4 separate regions of the Homo sapiens genome follow, and regions 1, 2 and 3 are each linked to region 4. Evidence: promoter capture Hi-C in human tissues and cell types (Jung and others, 2019). All regions are on one chromosome and are shown on one strand. The core of a region is centred on a gene start or on the middle of the fragment in contact, and the rest is flanking DNA. Distances in the headings are between cores, read along the strand shown.

Region 1 (2,700 bases), core at 134-2,633, 53 kb after region 4:
GCAAGAAGAGTCACGGGTTTTATTTCAAATACAATTGGTACGATGTCAGAATCATGGGAAGCCATGTTGAAAAGCCCGCTGAGAGTCAGCGAAGTGTACATCTCATATGTTGGTGATGCTAAAGAGAAGCATCATGACATTACTCCAGACAAGTGTTTAATAGCTATGTTCACTGTGTTCTGCTCAGGAAGTGATGCGTTAAGCATTTATTTATTTAAACATTTGATGGTTGTTGCTTATTATGTTAATATTTTACTGTATTGATTTGCATTTTAGGAAATAGTTAGTGGTTTGGGGTTATCATGTAATGAAGTATAATTTTTCCTATTTGAAATAATAAAAAATAGGCTTGGTAATATTTTCATTTAGAATGTCTGATTTTGGGGGAGGAATTACTGGAGTTAAATGGGCAATACATGTATATTTTTAAGTAACTTTTTCATGGATTCCAATTTATTATTGGCAATTGCTTCATTCTACTTTTACTCCTAAATAACTTAGCTGGGTACTCATTGTAGGTGAATTATTTTTTGCCTTCCACAATTTAATGATATCCCACCATCTTTTGGTATTGTTTTTGAGAATTCTATTCTCAATCTAATCATCATTCCTTTGTCGATAATCTGTCTTTCTTCTCTGGATTCTTTTAATATTTTAGTTCTCAATATTTGCAAACTATCCATCTGACAAAGGATTAATAATCTATATTCATAAGGAACTCAAACAACTCAATAGCAAAAAACAAAACAAAACAAATAATCCAGTTTTAAAATGAGCAAAAGACCCGAATAGAAATTTCTCAAAAGAAGACATACAAATGGCCAACAGGTACATGAAAAAATGCTCAACATCACTAATCATCAAGGAAATGCAAATCAAAACCACAATGAGATATCATCTCACCCCAGTTAGAATGACTATAATCAAAAAGACAAAAAATAACAAATGCTGGCAAGGATGCAGAGACAGAGGAACACTTCTACACCATTAGTAGAAATGTGAAGTAGTACAGCCATTATGAAAGGTTCCTCAAAAAACTAAAAATAGAACTACCATATGATCCAGCAATCTCACTATTAGGTATATATCCAAAAGAAAGGAAGTCAGTACATCTAAGAGATATCTGAACTATCACATTTATTGCAGCACTATTAATAATAGTCAAGGTGATGAATGGATAAAGAAAATGTGATATATATACATACATTTCTTTATATATGTATAGGAATTTATATATATATATAGGAATATTATTCAGTCATTAAAAATGAAATCCTGGCATTTGCAGCAACATGTATGAAACTGGAGGTTATTATATTCAGTGAGATAAGCCAGGCACAGAAAGGCCAATATTGCATGTTCTCATCCCTATGTGGGAACTGAAAAAGTGGATCTCTTGGAGATAGAGAGTAGAATGATGGGCCGGGTGTAGTGGCTCACACCGGTAATCCCAACACTTTGAGAAGCCAAGGTGGGCAGATGGCTTGAACCTAGGAGTTTGAGACCAGCCTGAGCAACATGGCAAAAAAAAAAAAACTCTACAAAAAAATAAAAAAATTAACCAGGCATAGTGGCGCACATCTGTAATCCCAGCTACTTAGGAAGCTGAGGTGGGAGGATGGTTTGAACCCAGGGTGCCAAGGCTACAGTGAGCTATGATCACACCACTGCACTCCAACCTGGGTGACCGAGTAAGTCTTTGTCAAAAAAAAAAAAAAAAAAAGGAGAGAGTAGAATGGTGGTTACCAGAGGAAAGCAGGTAGAGAGGATGATGAGAAATTGGTTAATGCATGCAAAAATACAGCTCAATAGAAGCAATAAGTTCTAGTATTCAATGGTGCAGTTGAGAAGTTATAGTGAATAATACCTTATTGCATATTTATAAATTGATAGAAGAATTGTAATGTTTCCAACATAAGAAGAAGAGAAACATTTGAGGTGATTGATATCCCAATCACCCTCATTTTATCACTGCATACTATATACATGTATCAAACTATCACATGTGTCCCCCAAATAAGTACAACTATGATATATTAATAAAAATACATATAAATAAAATATAGTTCTGCATGTTCTGCAGTTTTCATTCTGATGTGGCAAGGTGTGGATTTGGATTTATATTTACAGGAAGCCCTTGAATAATGTGGGGGTTGGGGCACTGGCTCCCCAACCCCCTGCAGTTGAAAATATGCCTATGACTTTTGACTCCTCAGAAACTTAACTACTAATAGCCTACTGTTGACCAGAAGCCTTACCAATAACATACACAGCTGAACACATGTTTTGTATATGTGTTACATACTGTATTCTTACAATAAAGTAAGCTACAGAAAAAAGTTATTAAAAATCATAAGGAAGAGAAAATATATTTACTATTCATTAAGTGGAAGTGGATCTCATAAAGGTCTTCATTTTTATCATCTTCATGTTGAGTAGCAGAAGAGGAGGAAGAGGAGGGGTTGGTCTTGCTGTGTCAGGGGTGGCAGAGGCGGAAGAGGAGGAGGAGGTGGAAGGGGAGGCAGGCACACTTAGCATAAGTTTTATTGAGAAAAATCTGCATGTAAGTGGACCCACACAGTTCAAACCCATGTTGTCCAAGGGTCAGCTGTATATTCTGCTTGAAACTCATTCATTCACTTGATATATACTTATTGTGCCCCTACTACTTGCTAGATCCAGGCACTAGGGATCAGCAGA
Region 2 (2,700 bases), core at 136-2,635, 42 kb before region 4:
TTAATCATCACACTCCACTGCACCCCAACTCTAGCTAGCTGCTTTTTAGATTTTCTCTTTGTTTATGTATTCTGCAATTTCTTTGTGATGTGCCTTGATGCAAATTTCTTTTCACTTATCTTTAATAGTTATTATTGTTCTTTCAATAACCTACCACCTCACTTTTTTCTCATCTTCTGAAATAACAATTACACTTTTGAAAGAGAAGAAAGACCATCTTGGAAAAAAGAGACCTTCTCTCTCTGTCCTCTACGTCTCTTTACCACTCTCCTATATTTTTCATTTCTTTGCCTCTTTGCACTATAATTCTGTATAATTTATTCACATTATCTTCAGTTCTCTAATTCTGTCTTCCACAGTGTCTAATCTGCCACCATACCCATTCACTGACTTTTCAATTTCTGTTACTCTATTTTTAATTTTAGAAGTGCTAGTTGATCTTTTTCTAACCCACAATGTCAATTTTTATTGTTGACTATTTCTTGCAGATATTTTAAAGCTTACCTTACATTTATTTAAATAAAATTAACATAGCTCTTTGTACTCTGTGTCTGGTCATTCAAACAGCTGCAGTTGTCTAACTCGCCTCTGCTGTCTATTTTGCTGACATTAACTATTGGTGCTTTGTTTTCTGAGTTTAGTAATCTTCAACTGTACTGCTTACTGCCCTTGAGAAACCATTTATACAAAATCCTCGAGGCCTAGGATGAAAGTATCTGCCTCCAGAGATGATTAGAGCTTGCTTCTGCCAGGTGCTTGGGGGTACTGTAGTTGTGTATCACTTTAAATTCATAGCTCAAAGTTTCTTGGCTCATCCCAAAGACATGTATTTGAGCAGCATATGGGCAAATACTGCCAGCCAATGATTCAGTGATGACGTCCTATCAGGGACGGGTTTTCTTTTTCTTTTCTCTGCTTTGCTTAGTGTCAAGGTAACTCTCCCATGGTCCCCTGGGGTAGTGGGAAGGGGAGCAGGTTCACCTTTGGTTTGTCCTTACCCTGAAGGTGAACCCCTTCAGACTCACAGCTTAATGTGAGGCAAGAGTCTCCTATGAGACCCTCCTTCCTACCTTGGGTGAGTCTTGGCCTTTGACTTCCGTATTCTTCATTCTGAGAGTCCATGAAAACCACAGCCAACTCAACTTAACCTGATCAACCACGGGCAAAATCCAATCAGGGCAAAACCTAATCACTTGGGAAGTCCTGATTATCTTGTCAGCTTTTCAGTGCTTTTAAAATCAAGTTTGTTTAATATGTTATCCAAATATTCATTGTTTTAACTGCAAGAATTAATCTAAATAACTAAGTCCATTATTACCAGACATGGAATGTCTGTTGATTTTTCTTATAAGTTTTAGTAACAGCTTATCTAGCTTTTTAAAATCCTATATTTTTATTGGCTTCAAATTCCATTTATAGATATCATTGGGAGAGTTAAATTTTTTGCTTTAAGTCTTCCTACTTAAGAATATGTCATGCCTTTCCATTTCTTTCATTTTTTTCTCCTCAATAACGTTTTAAAGTTACATTTTATATGACTTACACTTTGTGTTAAATTTTTACTCTTACACTTTTCAAAATTATTTTTATCTCTTTTTTTTTGCCCACATCTCACATTCCTTTTTACCAAAATGTTAGCTTTAAAAAATATATACCTAGGTGTTTTCTTTCTTTCAGTTAAATTAATATAAATATTAAACCTTTAAGTTTTTTCCAGAATTCTGCTTTAGCTCTGTCCCATAGGTTCTGATATGTACTAGCTTAATTATTTTCATTTATAAAAATATAACCCTTAATTATTTTTATTTTTAAAAATATATCCCTAATGGAAGAGTTGCACATGAAAGAATATTTTAGCATTTCCAGGTGGTAGAATTTTTCTCCTTCCTTATTTTATTATTAGTTTTTAAATGAATTGCTTTGTGATCAGAGAAGCTTTTCTGGACTCAGTCTAATTTCTGAAGTTTAGTAACATGTTCTTTGTGGACTTGGATATGGTCAGTTTCCAGCAGAATCTGAGTCTCCGTTCTGCTGCTTCCACTGTGGTCTTGGTTTCTAGGTTGTCATTTTTGCTAAGTTCTGCCAACTTATGTTTCACTTCCCATTGTCTTGCTAAATATTTCCTAAACTACTGTATATGTTTTTTTGAGCTCCTGTTTTTTAAAGGCGATTGTTTCACTAAGTTTTTTCTTTTCTTTTTAAATTCATGAAAGTATGTTGGGTCATAAATGTCATCTGTTTTGTGGCAATATTTTTCTAGTGAAGCTTTTTTTTTTTTTTTTTTTTTTTGAGACAGAGTCTTGCTCTGTCAGCCAGGCTGCAGTGCAGTGCTCAATCTCGGCTCACCATAAGATCCGTCTCCTGGGTTCACACCATTCTCCCGAGAAGCTGGGACTACAGGCGCCTGCCACCATGCCTGGCTAATTTTTTGTATTTTTAGTAGAGATGGGGTTTCACGGTGTTAGCCGGGATGGTCTCGATCTCCTGACTTCGTGATCCGCCCGCCTTGGCCTCCCAAAGTGCTGGGATTACAGGCGTGAGCTACCGCCCCCGGCTGTAAAGCTTTTTTAAACCTAATTTATTTGCTTTTCTTGTTTCATTCATTCTCTTTTCATCTATAGATACTGTGTGTGTTCCTTTTTGAATACTACCCATCTCTAAGTCAGGTCCGGGCTTTCTGAATTAGCTATCTGCAAGACA
Region 3 (2,700 bases), core at 36-2,535, 60 kb before region 4:
CCATCTCTCCCTTTAGATCTAATAATATTTGCTTTGTATACCTCAGTGCTCTGATGCTGCATGCATGTATGTTTAGAATTGTTACATCCTCTTGCTGAATTGATCCCTTTATCATATAATAACCTTCTTTTACTCTTTTTACTGTTTTTGCCTTAAAGTCTGTTTTAACTGATATAAAGGTAGCTACTCCTGCTCTCTTTTGGTTTCCATTTGCACGGAATATACTTTTCCATCTCTTTACTTTCAGTCTATATATGTCTTTACAGGTGAGACATGTTTCTTTGTAGGCAGCATATAGTTAGGTCATTTAAAAAATTTCACTTAGCCATTCTATATCTTTTAAATGGAAAATTTAATTCACTTACATTCAAAGTTATTATTGATATGTCAGGGTTTATTTTTATCATTTTATTAATTGATTTCTGGTTGTTTTGTATATCCTTTCTTTCTCTCTTACGTTTTATCATTGTCACTTGGTAGTTTTCTGTGGTTATAACATTTGCATCCTTTCTATTCCTTACTTGTGTGTTTGCTCTACCAGTGGGTTTTATATTAACGCTTTTGTGTGTTTTTATGGTAGTAGATATCGTCCTTTCACTCCCAGGAATAGGACTCCCTTAGGCATTTCTTGTGGGATTAATCTAGTGGCGGTGAATTCCCTCAGCTTTTGTTTACCTGGGAAAGACTTCATTTCCCCTTCACTTATGAAGTATAACTTTGTATTTGGATGTCTAAATGTCTTAGTAGACTTGGGAAGTTTTCAGCTGTTGTTTCATTAAATAAGCTTTATATTCTTTTGGTTTTTTTCTTTCTTTCTGGCAATCAAATATTTGCATTTTTGCTGTCCAAATACAGGAAGCTCAGAGATCCCTAAACAGATGCAATTTTAAAAGATCTTCTCCATGGCATATTGTAGTCAAAATGTGAAAATTCAAAGACAAACAGAAAATGCTAAAAACAGCAAGAGAAAAGCATCTAGTCACTTACAAGTGAACCCCCATCAGACTAACAGTGGATTTCTCAGAAGAAACCTTAAATGCCAGGAGAGCATGGGATGATATATTCAAAGTGCTGAAAACAAACCTGCCAGATAAGGATACTATACACAGTAAAGTTATCTCTTCAGGCCTCCCAGTGATACATGCAGGTGTTGGTTGTAGTAGGAAGGGGTGGGGTGATCCCCAGGCCCCTAGTGGAATGTTCAGGTGGGGGTGGCAGTGACTGTGTGGCATCCCCACTGCTGGAGAGGGCAGGGTTGTTTTCAGTGGCAGCAGCCACAGGCAGGCAGCTGGGATGCATGAACTTCAGCCCCAGGTGGTGGCTTTGGGTGGAACAGCCTGTCTGTAGAGCACTTGCCTATGTGTAGCAGTCTCGCTACTGTGAGTGGTCATGCAATGACCCCAATGGAGGCAGCCAGCAATGATGGCAGCTACCTATGGGATGTCAATGGGGCTCCAGGGATGTGAAGATGAAGGGGCTGTTGAGCCCCAAGGCAGGATGCAGTTTGGCAGTGGCTGAGCTCTCAAAATGGCACCATGCTGAAGCTGCTTAGGACTTGAGGTGTGCAGGGGGCCCAATGTGAGCTCCATCTCTGGCGCAATGCCACTGTGCAGTTTCCAGGCAGCTCTCTAGGTTTGTCTCAGGGCATGGGAGAGTCGAGGGGCTCTTCCATGGCTCGGAATGCAGGAGCTCAGAGTGGGAATGTGGAGTGTTGGGTGTTGGGGATCACTTACTTACCTTTTACCTGCATTGAGAAGCCTCTTCTGGTTCCCAGCTGATCCCAGCTGAGCAAGCTGCCTGGCTTCCTTCTCCTTCCTTTTTTTTTTTTTTTTTTTTTAGCCCCTCTTTCCTTGCCTTAGATGTTTCCTGACACTTTTCTGTTGAATTCCAGTTTTATCTCTTAGATGATCTATTCAAAGTGTGATTATCTACTTGCAATTTTGGTTCTTCTTTGTGGAAGTGATGAGTACCAGAACCTTTAGTCAGCCGTCTTAACCCCCCTCCCAACAATCGGGTTTTTATCTGCTCTGAATATGACATTCAAATGCTAGCTCTCCTCTTACTAACTCAAATCTCTTTGTCACTACAAAGCAACCAGTTTCCAGTTTTATCCAAGGTTTCTTCTGGTGGCAAAGACTGCTTTGTGTTCACCAGAACCCATTTCCCCTTCTTCCTGGGCCCACAGCTACACTGCCTCCCTTTCAGTTCGGTGTGGCCATGAGACTGAGTTCTGGCCGATAACATAGGAGTGGAAGTGAGGAACATCCTTTCCAGGCCTGGCCCATAAAAAGCTCCCATTGAAAACTCACCATTCGCTCTCTTCCTATGTCTTCCTGCAGGTTGCTGACATCTAGGATGACTTGGGAAGTTACACGTTGAGTACAGAAGAGCCTTTCTCAGCCCAGGTTCCTGAATGTTATGTGTGAAGCAGAGCACTCCTGCTCTCATAACCAATTAGTGACTGGACAAGAAATAAACTTCTCTTGTCTTAAGCCTTAGAAATTTTGGATTTGTTAACACTTCGAATTGCCTTAACTTTTATGACATGCCACACATTTTCCATGCTCTGAACAGTGAAAGACTCATAGAATGTAGTGTTTAACATGATCTCTTTGTGAAGTGATCATCAATGTAGGATTCCTCCAAAGAAGAAACAATGACAACTCATCCCATCCTCACTGATCCTTTTATTGCTTTTAT
Region 4 (2,700 bases), core at 188-2,687:
ACAAATATGCGGGCGGAAGATGGCAAAGGGAGCTGGTGCTTGTGCAAGTTGTTGAGGTGTGCTCTGTGGAATGATGGCTGTCACAGACACTGTCAAGCAGGAGGTTGCCCTGGCTGTGCACATGCTGCAAAGCATGCATGTGAACGTGATTCTGATCACGGGGGACAACTGGAAGACAGTCAGAGCCTTTGCCACCCAGGTTGGCATCAACAAAGTCTTTGCAGAGGTGTTGCCTTCACACAAGGTGACCAAGGTTCAGGAGCTCCTGAATGAAGGGAAGAAAGTCGCCATGGTGGGGGACGGGGTCAATGATTCCCTGGCCTTGGCCCAGGCAGACTTGGGCATTGCCACTGGCACTGGCACGGATGTGGTCATCGAGGCAGCCAACGTCATCCTCATCAAAAATGATTTGCTGGATGTGGTGGCTAGCATTCATATTTCCAAGATGACTGTCCAGAGGATATGCATCAAACTGGTCCTGGCGCTGATTTATAACCTAGTGGGCATACCCATTGCTGCAGGAGCAAGCTTTCCAGATGAGTTGAAGATATGTGCATGGGCGGGAGATGATGACTTATTGCAGGGCAAGGCGTCATCCGTGTTGAAGGAGTGCCAGTGTTTCAGAAATGGACACAGAGCAGGTAAGTTTGATGGACAGGTAAGAGAATCACTCTCTATGTGCCAGCACTGTTCTAAGAGTCCTGGATCTTCTGGGGATGAGATTAGCGTTTTTCAGTTGTACATGGGACAGCTGAGGCTCATGCTAGGGAGTGGTGAGCCCTTTCCTGGAAGAAGTTAATCTAAAAAGCATAATCTGTCTCATTTGGGAGGAGCTAAATAAATATCTCTTCAATGAAGCAAAGGTCAATCAGAAAATTTGTATTTTAGCTATAAAATTACCTATCAGAATTTACCATAGGGCATAATCTTAGTCAAGCACCCAAATTCATTATTTCAGCCACAGATACTGAAACACCAAAGGGATAAGGGGGCAGGTATTTCAGTTAGCTACTGCTGCATAACAAATGACCCCAAAGCTTAGTGACTTAAAACAATGATTTGTTATTCCTTATCATTCTGTCAGCTGGGAGGTTCTTCTGCCCGCCCCACCTGGGGTCATGCACAAGGCTACATTTAGCTAGGGTGTCAGCTTGGGATGGGCATAGCTGGGATGCTGGGTCACCTGAGTCTTTCTCACCATGTGGTACTGTTTTAAAATATAGGTTTTAGCGCTTCCTCAGGATGTAAAGTGTAACAAAGGTACCGGGGTGGGCAGTGTGGGTCTGTGAGGCCTACGGGTGCCCGCGTCCCCTAACTCCCCCCGCAGCCGGCTCCGCAGTGGTACGCTCCGGTTGCCCGTTAGGGATTCAGGTTCCAAACGGAATGCTGCGTCTTCTCCAGCGTTTGTTGTGGCCGAGGTTACTGCAGCAACCGCCAGAGCAGCCTTGGCGCTACGGAGGAGCCTAGGGCTAACCCTCAGCCATACCTGGGGCTGGTCCTGGAGTTGCTACGCAGGGTTGTGGCAGCACTGACTGAAGGTATGAGACCCGATTCTCATCCTTATGGTTTTCCATGGGAATTGGTGATACGTGCAGCTGTTGCTGGATTTTTTGCTGTTCTCTTCTTGTGGAGAAGTTTTAGATCAGTTACGAGTCGGCTTTATGTGAGAAGAGAGAAAAAGTTTGCTGTGGCACTTTCTGGACTAATTGAAGAAAAATGTAAACTACTTGAAAAATTTAGCCTTGTTCAAAAAGAGTATGAAGGCTATGAAGTAGAGTCATCTTTAAAGAATGCCAGCTTTGAGAAGGAGGCAACAGAAGCACAAAGTTTGGAGGCAACCTGCGAAAAGCTGAACAGGTTCAATTCTGAACTTGTGCATGAAATACTCTGTCTAGAAAAAGAGTTAAAAGAAGAGAAATCTAAACATTCTGAACAAAATGAATTGATGGCGGATATTTCCAAAAGGATACAGTCGCTAGAAGATGAGTCAAAATCCCTCAAATCACAAGTAGCTGAAGCCAAAATGACCTTCAAGAGATTTCAAGCGAATGAAGAACGGTTGGAGATAGAAATACAAGATGCTTGGAAAGAAAATTCTGAACTTCAGGAAAGCCAGAAACAGCTTTTGCAAGAAGCTGAAGTATGGAAAGAACAAGTGAGTGAACTTATTAAACAGAAAAGAACATTTGAAGACTCCAAAGTACATGCAGAACAAGTTCTAAATGATAAAGAAAATCACATCAAGACTCTGACTGAACGCTTGCTAAAGATGAAAGATGGGGTTGCTATGCTTGAAGAAGATGTAACGGATGATGATAACTTGGAATTAGAAATGAACAGTGAATCGGAAGATGGTGCTTACTTAGATAATCCTCCAAAAGGAGCTTTGAAGAAACTGATTCATGCTGCTAAGTTAAATGCTTCCTTAAAAACCTTAGAAGGAGAAAGAAACCAAATTTATATTCAATTATCTGAAGTTGATAAAACAAAGGAAGAGCTTACAGAGCATATTAAAAATCTTCAGACTGAACAAGCATCTTTGCAGTCAGAAAACACACATTTTGAAAGTGAGAATCAGAAGCTTCAGCAGAAACTTAAAGTAATGACTGAATTATATCAAGAAAATGAAATGAAACTCTACAGGAAATTAATAGTAGAGGAAAAATGCCGGTTAGAGAAAGAAGAGAAACTTTCTAAAGT

Evidence for each region. The method cuts DNA at HindIII sites, captures the fragments that hold promoters and counts their contacts. A contact is called where the count stands out against the background at its distance.
Region 1: a fragment that was not itself captured here is called in contact with the fragment with the promoter of CTAGE1 in region 4 in 1 of the 25 tissues and cell types used here (adrenal gland).
Region 2: a fragment that was not itself captured here is called in contact with the fragment with the promoter of CTAGE1 in region 4 in 2 of the 25 tissues and cell types used here (dorsolateral prefrontal cortex and mesenchymal stem cells).
Region 3: a contact is called between a fragment that was not itself captured here and the fragment with the promoter of CTAGE1 in region 4, in 3 of the 25 tissues and cell types used here (dorsolateral prefrontal cortex, mesenchymal stem cells and mesendoderm cells).

The regions. Positions count from the first base shown.
Region 1 is chr18:22,364,067-22,366,766 of GRCh38, reverse strand. No RefSeq gene overlaps it. Among named protein-coding and RNA genes, the nearest start is that of CTAGE1, 52 kb to the left of the region's middle. The HindIII fragment of the contact is 5,109 bases long and covers 1-2,700 here.
Region 2 is chr18:22,459,060-22,461,759 of GRCh38, reverse strand. The region is part of intron 2 of LOC124904260 (a long non-coding RNA gene); the gene reads left to right. Among named protein-coding and RNA genes, the nearest start is that of CTAGE1, 42 kb to the right of the region's middle. The HindIII fragment of the contact is 3,214 bases long and covers 1-2,700 here.
Region 3 is chr18:22,476,006-22,478,705 of GRCh38, reverse strand. No RefSeq gene overlaps it. Among named protein-coding and RNA genes, the nearest start is that of CTAGE1, 59 kb to the right of the region's middle. The HindIII fragment of the contact is 7,194 bases long and covers 1-2,700 here.
Region 4 is chr18:22,416,652-22,419,351 of GRCh38, reverse strand. It overlaps CTAGE1 (cutaneous T cell lymphoma-associated antigen 1), which reads left to right and starts at 1,437. Exons shown (of 1, transcript NM_172241.3): 1 at 1,437-2,700. The coding sequence starts at 1,541. It also overlaps the pseudogene ATP7BP1. The HindIII fragment of the contact is 3,989 bases long and covers 784-2,700 here.